2 separate regions of the Homo sapiens genome follow, and region 2 is linked to region 1. The links are contacts of gene promoters, found by promoter capture Hi-C in human tissues and cell types (Jung and others, 2019). All regions are on one chromosome and are shown on one strand. Each heading gives the region's core, a stretch centred on a gene start or on the middle of the fragment in contact. The rest is flanking DNA. Distances are from core to core; before and after follow the strand shown. Region 1 overlaps ST3GAL3 (ST3 beta-galactoside alpha-2,3-sialyltransferase 3). Region 2 holds the start of IPO13 (importin 13).

The links. The method cuts DNA at HindIII sites, captures the fragments that hold promoters and counts their contacts. A contact is called where the count stands out against the background at its distance.
Region 2: a contact is called between the fragment with the promoter of IPO13 here and a fragment that was not itself captured in region 1, in 2 of the 25 tissues and cell types used here (mesenchymal stem cells and pancreas).

The regions. Positions count from the first base shown.
Region 1 is chr1:43,896,219-43,900,858 of GRCh38, forward strand. It overlaps ST3GAL3 (ST3 beta-galactoside alpha-2,3-sialyltransferase 3), which reads left to right. Exons shown (of 12, transcript NM_006279.5): 7 at 2,017-2,080; 8 at 2,950-3,045; 9 at 3,323-3,509. Among named protein-coding and RNA genes, the nearest start is that of ARTN, 35 kb to the right of the region's middle. RefSeq lists an enhancer at 3,465-4,323. The HindIII fragment of the contact is 8,839 bases long and covers 1-4,640 here.
Region 2 is chr1:43,944,527-43,949,166 of GRCh38, forward strand. It overlaps IPO13 (importin 13), which reads left to right and starts at 2,424. Exons shown (of 20, transcript NM_014652.4): 1 at 2,424-3,158. The coding sequence starts at 3,075. It overlaps LOC101929609 (a long non-coding RNA gene), which reads right to left and starts at 2,073. Exons shown (of 2, transcript NR_188535.1): 1 at 1,955-2,073; 2 at 1-270. RefSeq lists a silencer at 2,220-2,469. The HindIII fragment of the contact is 10,546 bases long and covers 1-4,640 here.

The DNA of each region.
Region 1 (4,640 bases), core at 1,558-4,057:
CATTCCAGTGAAACTGCTCAGTGTCCCGGAGAAATCCAAGGGATACTTCTCAGTCCTTAACATGACCTCTCGGCTACCTCTGCCTCCTTTAAAAAAGTATAAGTTTGTTATTTTTAATTTTGGAGACATCTTTTCTTTACATAAAATATTTCAAGCATACAAAAAATACTAGGAATAATAAGCATTGATGTACCTTCTACCCAGCTGAAGAAATAAAACATGAGACACAATTAAAGCTTCTGCGGGTCCCTTCCCACTCCATTCTCTTCCTTCCCCAGGAAGCCACTATTCTGCATTATCCTGGCTTCAGTGTTGGCATTCTTATGCCTTGTTTATATATGTTTGAGACAGGGTCTTGCTTTGTCACCCAGGCTGCAGTGCAGTGGCACACACACGACTCACTGCAACCTCAACTCCAGCGCTCAAGCAATCCTCTCACCTCAGCTCCCCAAGTAGCTGGGACTACAAGCACACACTAGCACTCCTGACTAATTTTTGTATTTTTTTGTAGAAACAGGGTTTAACCATGTTGCCCAAGCTGGTCTCAAACTCCTGAGCTCAAGCAATCCTCCCTCCTTGGCCTCCCAAAGTGCTGGGATTACAGGTGTGAGCCACCACACCCGGGCTTGTTTATGTATTTTCACTACATATTTATATATTTATTAAAAATATAGTACCGCTCTTACATGTCTTTAGACTTTACAAATGGTGTCATTATATGTACATGTATTTGTGTATATGTGTATGTATATTCTTCATATTTTTTTAATGTGTTTTTGAGATTTATCTATATTGGTACATACAGCTGTAGGTCATTGATTTTTTTTTTTTAATGGCTGTATAGGATTTCATACACCACATTTAATCTGGTTTTTTTTTTTTTTGGTGGACATTCAGCTTGCCTCCACCATTTTGCTATTACAAACAGTTCATCAGCAAACACTCTTGCATGTCTCCTGGAGCAAGTGTGTGACTTTTTCAACGCTCCACGCCTAGGAGCATAGTTGTAGGATCTTAGTGTCTGCACATCTTCGTGGTTATTTGATGTTATTAAGATGCTCTCCATTGTGGTGATACCAGTTTACTTTATTTTTAGGTCTTTGTGTACGTTATTTTATATCTTCCTAACAACTCCACAAAATAGGAATTACTTTCATTTTAGAGATGAGGAAACTAAAGCTCAAAGAAAGGAAATGATTTATATAAGGTCACAGAGCACAGCCAGTATTTGACTCCAAAGCCAATACCCTTGCTATTCACTATACATCATATTATAGTGCTCTCATGATACCAGAGTTTGGAAGAGCAGTCCTTATTGCCAAAGCCAGAGAGAGGCCAAGGAGATGAGGTCTAAATAGTGGGCACAGGTCTGAGAGCACAGAAGTCATGGGGGTCTTTGCTGAATGGAGTGCAGGTGGGCAGAGCCAGGCTCAGGGAGTAAAGAGGTGAGGAGGTAAAGACAGCCTGGCAAAGAGCAGGATTCAGGATTGGCAATGTGAGAGGGAGGAAGTGAGGGAAAGGTGATGTCAGATAATGAGGCACGTGGTGAGCTCTTCAGTTGCTGGGTGTCTCCTCATTTGTTTCCTGGTATCTGCTGGGTGGGAGCACAGAGATAAGTACAAGGTGGTCTCTAGCTCTGAGCAGGTACTCCCATTCCAGGGAGACTGCGTGCGCCAGCTTCCAGGGAAGGCCCTGGCCTGGGAATGCATGTCCTGGGGCCTGACTACAGAGCCTCAGAAAACCAGATGAGCCTCCCAGAAGCCTGGGAGAGAAGCTGCGTGCCAGTGTTAGGGACGGGCTCCCGGCAGTGATATGCCTGTCTGTTTCCTGCCATCACCTCCTTTCTCAGGAAGAAAGTCAGGGCAGTGGCCCAATACATCCTTGTGTCCAGAGCTCTCTCCACTTCCACTTTCACTCTAGCCCCTAGGGACTTGTGTCTTCCAGTAGGATTATCAGTAAACATTTTATAGAAAGGTAAGTGACCCTGTAACAGAAACCTCTCTCCTCTGTCTGCAGACAATCTGATCAAAGCCATCTTGTCAGTCACCAAAGAGTACCGCCTGACCCCTGCCTTGGACAGGTGAGCCACACACTGTGCAGCCTCCTACCCACCGCTGCCTGGTGGTGTGCAGAGGTGTTGAGGCCCAGCTGGCCTTCCCTGGACATGGGCAGTTTCTCCAGCACATCCACACATGCACATACAGTACACACACAGGGTGGGTGGAGCAGGTAAGTGGAACCACTCCACCTGACTTGCACCCCCACGGGCTGTCAGCACTTGGCAGGACATCCCAGTCCTCAGATACCAGAGGTTTGAGGGTAAGAACTGAACACACTGGGGCTGGGACTAGCCCAGCAATGGGACTGAGGGCCTGGGTGGCGGGGGCAGGTGAAGGGGGCAAGGCTTAAGTCCAGAAGGCAGTGACAGCTCCCAAACCAACAGACCCTAGAGCAGGAAGCCCCAGGGTCAGGGATGGGAGAAGCAAGATGGGTAAGCTCTCTAGTGGCTGCTGGGAGCCTTGAGTCCTAGAGCCTCCTGTCCCGTTCCCCTTTTCTTGCTTTCCTGGTATAGCCCCAAGCTCGGCCCACTTTTCCCTCTCCCCTGAAGCCTGCCTAAACACCACTACCCCTTGGGGAACCTTTACCCTAGAATGTCATCTTACCAAAGCTCCCTCCTCACCACCCACGCCTGGCACCCAAGCCTTTCCATGGCCCTGTTTTCCTGGGGAAGTGTCAGGGCCTAGATAGAGATGCTGGAGAGTCTCAGGGCCCAGCTACCCATTGTATGGTTCAGGCCTTCTCTCAGAAATGCTGCCAGAAGCCCATTGGTCTTCTTCCTCTATCCCAGCCTGGTCCTGGACAAGGGCGTGGGGTCAAGGGCCAAAGGAGCAGGGAAAGAGACCTGGTGGGCAGCTCTCTGTACAGAGGTCTCCGCCTCTCTCCCCTCAGCCTCCGCTGCCGCCGCTGCATCATCGTGGGCAATGGAGGCGTTCTTGCCAACAAGTCTCTGGGGTCACGAATTGACGACTATGACATTGTGGTGAGGTGAGCTCCCCAAAATGGCACCTCGGGTGAGTGTCGTGGCCCCAACCCTTAGTCCTGAGCCCATTGAGAACTGTCTGTCTGGCTAGTTGGGCTGGAGGTCAACGGAAGCCTCAAGAACTCTGGGTTGGAGGGCTTTGGAACAGACAACTAGCGGGGGCACCTGGGGAGAATAGGTCCAGGTGACCTGGACTCCCTATTCTCCATGCCTGGGATAGTCTGGGGTCATGGTGCCTTCCCAAACACAGGCCCAGGCTCTGAGTGGGCCTGCTCTCTGTAGACTGAATTCAGCACCAGTGAAAGGCTTTGAGAAGGACGTGGGCAGCAAAACGACACTGCGCATCACCTACCCCGAGGGCGCCATGCAGCGGCCTGAGCAGTACGAGCGCGATTCTCTCTTTGTCCTCGCCGGCTTCAAGTGGCAGGACTTTAAGTGGTTGAAATACATCGTCTACAAGGAGAGAGTGGTAAGCTCTCCTGGCACCAGCTTCTTCCCCTCTTGCCCTGGGCTTCCGCAACTCCTAAGCAATCCCGCCCCTTGAATGCAGCAAAGAACGAGTAAGAACCTTCAAAGGAAACATTAATGACCCAAAGCCGAAATCACCCAATGGCAACCAGGGGGCAAAGAGGTCAGGAGATTGCCCGGGTTACTGGCCAAACTCCAGGAGCCAATATGCCTGAAACCTGCTACCTGCTTCCAGGTGCCCAGGTGCAGATCCTTTCTCAGCCTTCTGTAGCCAGACCCCAGCAGCCCCAGGGGCCCTTCCCTGGCCTTAGATCTCCTGGCCAAGGGAAGCTCTGTCTCTCAGGCCAGCCTTCGTATCACTCCCAATCTTTCTACTTTCCTGCCCTGACCTTGTAGCTGCCTCCCTTGCACCCTCTTCTCCTCTGTAAGGTCTCTCTGGCTCTGGTCTTAGGGGTCCCTGCCCTCTTTCTCAGCCTGGGTTCTGCAGGGACAGCAGACCCCTCAACTTGAGAGTGCCAGCTCCCAAACTTAGAAGTCCTGGCCTGTTTCCACTTTGTACTTTTACCACTGACTTATAGTTGAATTCCCAACCTGCCACTGAGTCTGATCATTGGGAATGATCAGGTTCTACTGACTGTTCTAAGCAGGTAAGGGTCTGGGCCCATTTCTTTAGGGAGCTTATGTGGCAGAGTAAGGTCAACTGCTCTTTAGGAGACCACCACTGAGTTCCCTCCCGAGACCTCTACTTCCCAGCTCTGGGCCTACAGGGACATCCGTGAACTTGTCCAGGCCCACTCCCCCACAACCAGCTGTCACCAGCAGCCCCAGGGGTGGGGTACTGCAGAGCTCAGGCCATTCATCTTCTAATACCCAAGCCTCTTGCTAGAGGAGGATGGTGACAGACGGCCCTCTGCCTACAGTGAGAAGCTGATTGTTCTTTCCAGAGGTTTAGAGAAGAGTTGGGAGTGGGAACAGCTTCCTTTGCCTTTAGGGTCTCAGTGCAATTTGGTTTAACTCCACAGCTCTTTCCCAAGCAAGGCCAAGTACAGGCAGTGTCAAGTAGGTAGCAAGCAAGAGAGAAGACAGAAGTCAGGTCCAGAAATTCAGGTAGGTGGGACAGTGGGGAAGGGGA
Region 2 (4,640 bases), core at 1,174-3,673, 48 kb after region 1:
GGTCTACACTTGTTCCTTAGAGAAGAAAGAGCCCTTCTGGCTCCCAAAGACTTATCTGCCACTTGGCTCTGAGCTATCCTGCACTAACATCCAAATCTCCTGGAGATCACCTTTGGTCTGGCCTCCGGAAATGCCCCCAACTCTCCCCAGGGCCTACTTCAGTCCATCTGTCCTAAATAGTGTTTGCAAAGGATGTTCAGGAGTCATTGCTGTGAGACTGGGCTTCTTTCTCTGCCAGATCCCTGGAACCTCCAGGGATGAGGAGGAGCCCTGGATGGGAAGCAGGAAGAAAACACATACTGACTAAGTTGTGGTCTCTGGGCTGAGCCCCCCACCCCTAAAACCCCTTAACTAAAATGAGTTTCAGAAGAAGCTAAGGTCTCATTGCTAGAAAGAGGCATAAACAGGTTTTGAACTCAGGACTAAGTCCAGAATTTGTGCATTTAAACCCCACTCCCAACACCATCTCCCCTGCCCACCACCACCTCCACCAGTGAAACCGCCAGCCAGCACCAGGCCCAAGGTATTTCACACCCTAGGCACAGGCCTGGAATCAGTTACTTTATTTTGGCTTTCTATTTCCTCCTTCCAAATGTCTCCTGCCTCTCTTTCTTCCTTCAATTTGTCTTTCATGTTGCAGATTTTTCTAAAATGCAAATGTAATCATCATTGCTCACTTGAAACCCCATCATGGTTTCATATTGCACTTAGGATAATGTCCAAACTCCTACAAGAATCTATTGCCACCAACTTGTCTTTCCAACCTCATCTCTGTTACTCATACCCTTCCCCTTCCCCACCCCACATATATTCTCTTAAAATGAATATAAATTACTTACTATTCTTTCTTTTCTTTTCTTTTTTTTTTTTAGACGGAGTCTCACTCTGTCGCCCAGGCTGGAGTGCAGTGGCGTGATCTCAGCTCACTGCAAGCTCCACCTCCCGTGTTCAAGCCATTCTCCTGCCTCAGCCTCCCGAATAGCTGGGACTACAGGTGCCTGCCACCATGCCCGGCTAATTTTTTGTATTTTTAGTAGAGACGGGGTTTCACCGTGTTAGCCAGGATGGTCTCGATCTCCTGACCTCGTGATCCGCCCGCCTCAGCCTCCCATAGTGCTGGGATTACAGGCGTGAGCCACCGCGCCCGGCCTACTTGCTATTCTTTATTGATGAAGACTTGCTGAATGACTTAGAGTCCTACTGGATTTTGCTTACCAGCTAAATGGGCCCCTCTCCTTCCCAGGCTCTCTATTCTTCAAGCTCAGATCAAGTTTCTCTTCTCAGGGAAGCCTTCATGGACCTTCTCAGGCCTCAGCAGCTGCTGCCAATGCCAGCTTCCAATGCCAGCTTCCTCCATTTGAACAAAACTACGGAGCTCTTTGCACTTTTAATTTTTTCCTCTTCCCTGCTAGGGTAGCTGGCAGGAGTTAATAAACAATAAAATACAACTGGAGGGGTGACAGGCAGGAACTACCGGGGCCTGTGGCAGACCAGATCTATGGCATGGTCTGCCACCCTGTCTGTGTGCCAGGGGCAAGATAAGCCTAACTTTCCCCAAGCTCGATTTCCTCATCTCATCTGAAAATGATGAATAAAAATATCCACCTCAGAGCTATTAAGAAAACTGAACCTAAGGTAAGCAAAGTCCTGCTCCTAGCACTTAAATGTAAGCTACTCTTACTCTAGTTACACATAAAGTTACTTCCAAAAACCTTACGAAATTCCCCGAGCACTGTCCATGGTATGTGGTTTCCCGGTTGCTTATTGGGTGGTCCCGAGAGCCTTCCTTTTTTCCTTCCTGAGGCGTGCCAAGTCCCCTCTCCTCTTCTCTGGGTGGTGCTGACGCCTTCTTCCCAGGCTGCACCTTTGCTGGGCCGGAGGATGCCCCCGGCAGCGGAGCGCCAGAGTGACCAGGCAACCTCCCCAGCCTCCACCCTCTAGCCCGGGCTCCCACCTCCGTCCTCCGGCCCCTCGAGTCACGTCGTCCTACTAAGGAGTTGGGCCGCAGCGCCCCGCGCCGGTCTGACCCGGAATGCCTGCTCGCCGCGGTAGGCCGAGGACAGGCGGGGCTCTGCAGGTCCCCAACCCACGTGCTCCCGGCCTCCTCCGCAGGGCGCCGCCTTCCGGCTAGGCGCAACACGGACTACATTTCCCAGGGTGAACAGCGGCGGGGCCTAGACTCGGCCGCGGCCTGGGGCGGCGAGCCGCTCCACCGCCTGCTCAGGGGAGTGCGAGCTGGCGCGAGGACAGGGCTAAGGACCCGGAATGAGTTTCCGCGCAGTTCCGCTGGGCCGTGCCGGCCTGTACCGGGCCGTGCCGAGCCAGAACTGGCAGGAGTGGGGGCCTGAGTTGGAGGTGCCGGGGACAGGCGCTCGGGGCAGCCCGCGCCTTGCCGAGGTCCCTGCCCCGTCCCGGCCGGCCTGGCTTGTCTTGTCAGTCACTGGGGCGGAGGCAGCGGCTGTAGCGGGGCTGTAGCCGGGCGTTGAGCACAGCGCGGGCCAGGCCGAACGGAAGGGACCTGCCACAGCCCCTCAACTCCACGGACTCTTCGCCCTAGACTAGCGGAGCTGCATCTCCGCGCTTCGTTGGACGCCTCCGTAACCACGAAGGGCTCTCTCTCTCCCGTGACCCTCCAGCCCCATGACCTGTTCATAGCAGCCGAGAGCTCACCCAGGCGGGGGTGTTGTGGGTACAGGCCATCGACCCTGTGACCCCTCAAGAGCCAGGGACTCGGTTTCCCCCGCAGGCCTCCCTCCCCTGTGACTCCCTCCACACAGATTCTGGGGACAGAGCTGTTACCTGCCACTAGGATCCCCGCCTGAGAGCTCCTCACTGACGGCTCCCTCCTCGGAGTCCCCTTCATTGGGTCTCCTAAGAGCACCAATTTTGGTCTCTGGCAAGCCTCCCACCCCCAAACGAGGTGGGGAGGCCTCGGCAGCCATGCCCGCCCTGGGCCCCCCCTCACCCCACCACTCCCTGGGCACCCAAGCCGGGGTCTAGCAGGGGGCCAGCAGCCAAGGGGCTGGGGCAGGAGACAGATCAGGGCCCACCTCCCTGCCAGGGAGGGAGCAAAGATGGAGCGGCGGGAGGAGCAGCCGGGGGCTGCAGGGGCTGGAGCAGCACCAGCCTTGGACTTCACTGTGGAGAACGTGGAGAAGGTATGAGGGCTCTGGGGTGGGCACTCCAGTGACAGAGCAGAAGTTCTGGGGACTGTCACTGATGGCAGAGCTCAGGCCTGGGCTGGGTGCCCGCTGGTATGGTGCCCCCAGAGCACCTGGCATTTGCTCTCTTTCTGGGCAGGCAGTATTGCAGTGCCCTAATGGGCTATTTTTGTCTTTCCTTACAGGCAGGTCCCCTGTGGATAGATACTCTAGGGTCTTGGGATGGTCCCTTCAGGGTGCTGTGACTTAGCCTTCCGTCCAGACTGGCTATGTTCCAGCTCCATGGGAACTGCATGAGCAGTGCAGTAGGAAACTGGGAACCCAGGAGACCTGCAGCTCAGTCTCCTGGAATTATACTGATGCCAAACCATCCTGGACCTGGTTTTGTTGAGCCAAGGGCTCAGAAAATAATCTGGAACTAAAACAATCTGGGTTGTTTTGACTCTTTGGAGAAGGGTCCTTCCTTTATTGGATGGAAGCCAGACCAGTCCTGAGCAGGCAGGCCTGGGGCTGTCTCCCTTTGTTTTGTGCTGAGTCCAAGGGTCCTGGCCCTGCTGGGAGCCTTACAGGGCTCCTCCCTACTCGCCTGCCCACATAGCTCCCTGCCATGGCCCTCCCAGGCTCCCCGACTGCCCAGCCCATCTTTCTGAACTGCCTCTTTGGTTCTTTTCTGTATCTGCTCCCTACAACTTGAAATGCAGGAATGCATGCACCCTGGGATGAATGGGGAGATGGGGCTCCCTTACTTGAAAGCAGGGAATGATGTTCACTTGTTATCCTTAACCCCCGTTTGCCATAACAAACAATGAGGATGCATCTCTTCTGCCTGCTTTGGCGTCCCTGAGGGGCCAAACAAGGGCCAATGGCCATAACTGGCTGTCAGGGGTACAAATAGAGCTAAGCTTACTTGGATGGAGCCTGCTTAGGGGTCAGGGTCCTGGCCATACTCTTCCGCCCCTTGGAGCAGGGCAGTGTTGGCATGGTGGCGCACTGTTCCATGTGCTATTGGGAGATAAATCTCACTGTTTTCTTACTTCATAAAGTCCCGTTGGAATTGAGACCCCGGGGATTCTGCTAGTGGAGAGCACTAAGCTAGGTGTTTGCCAGGGCTGCAGCTATGGCCAAGGCTTCTCTGGATCAATTGGTTGGACATGTGCCCTCTGAGGAGTGTTCTCACCCTCTCCTCCAGCATGTCTGCCCCAGGGCTGCCTGGCAAAAGTCTTAGTCCTGCTCTGATTTCACACTGGCTTTGGTGCCAGCATCTGGACTGACCTAGGGATGATCCTGGGGGAGCTGAAAGGAGCTGTTGGAGTTGATGGGAGCAGCTGTGCCTGGGAGGGTCAAGTCCCCTCAAGCTGTTCCATGCCCTTCTCAGACTTAGCTTCATCCCTGTGAAGCTGTTCCTTCCACCTGGGCCTTGCCCTCAAGTGCCTCCCCTTTGGGGAGATCAGCCTCCTCTTTTTTGCTTTCCTGTGGAGA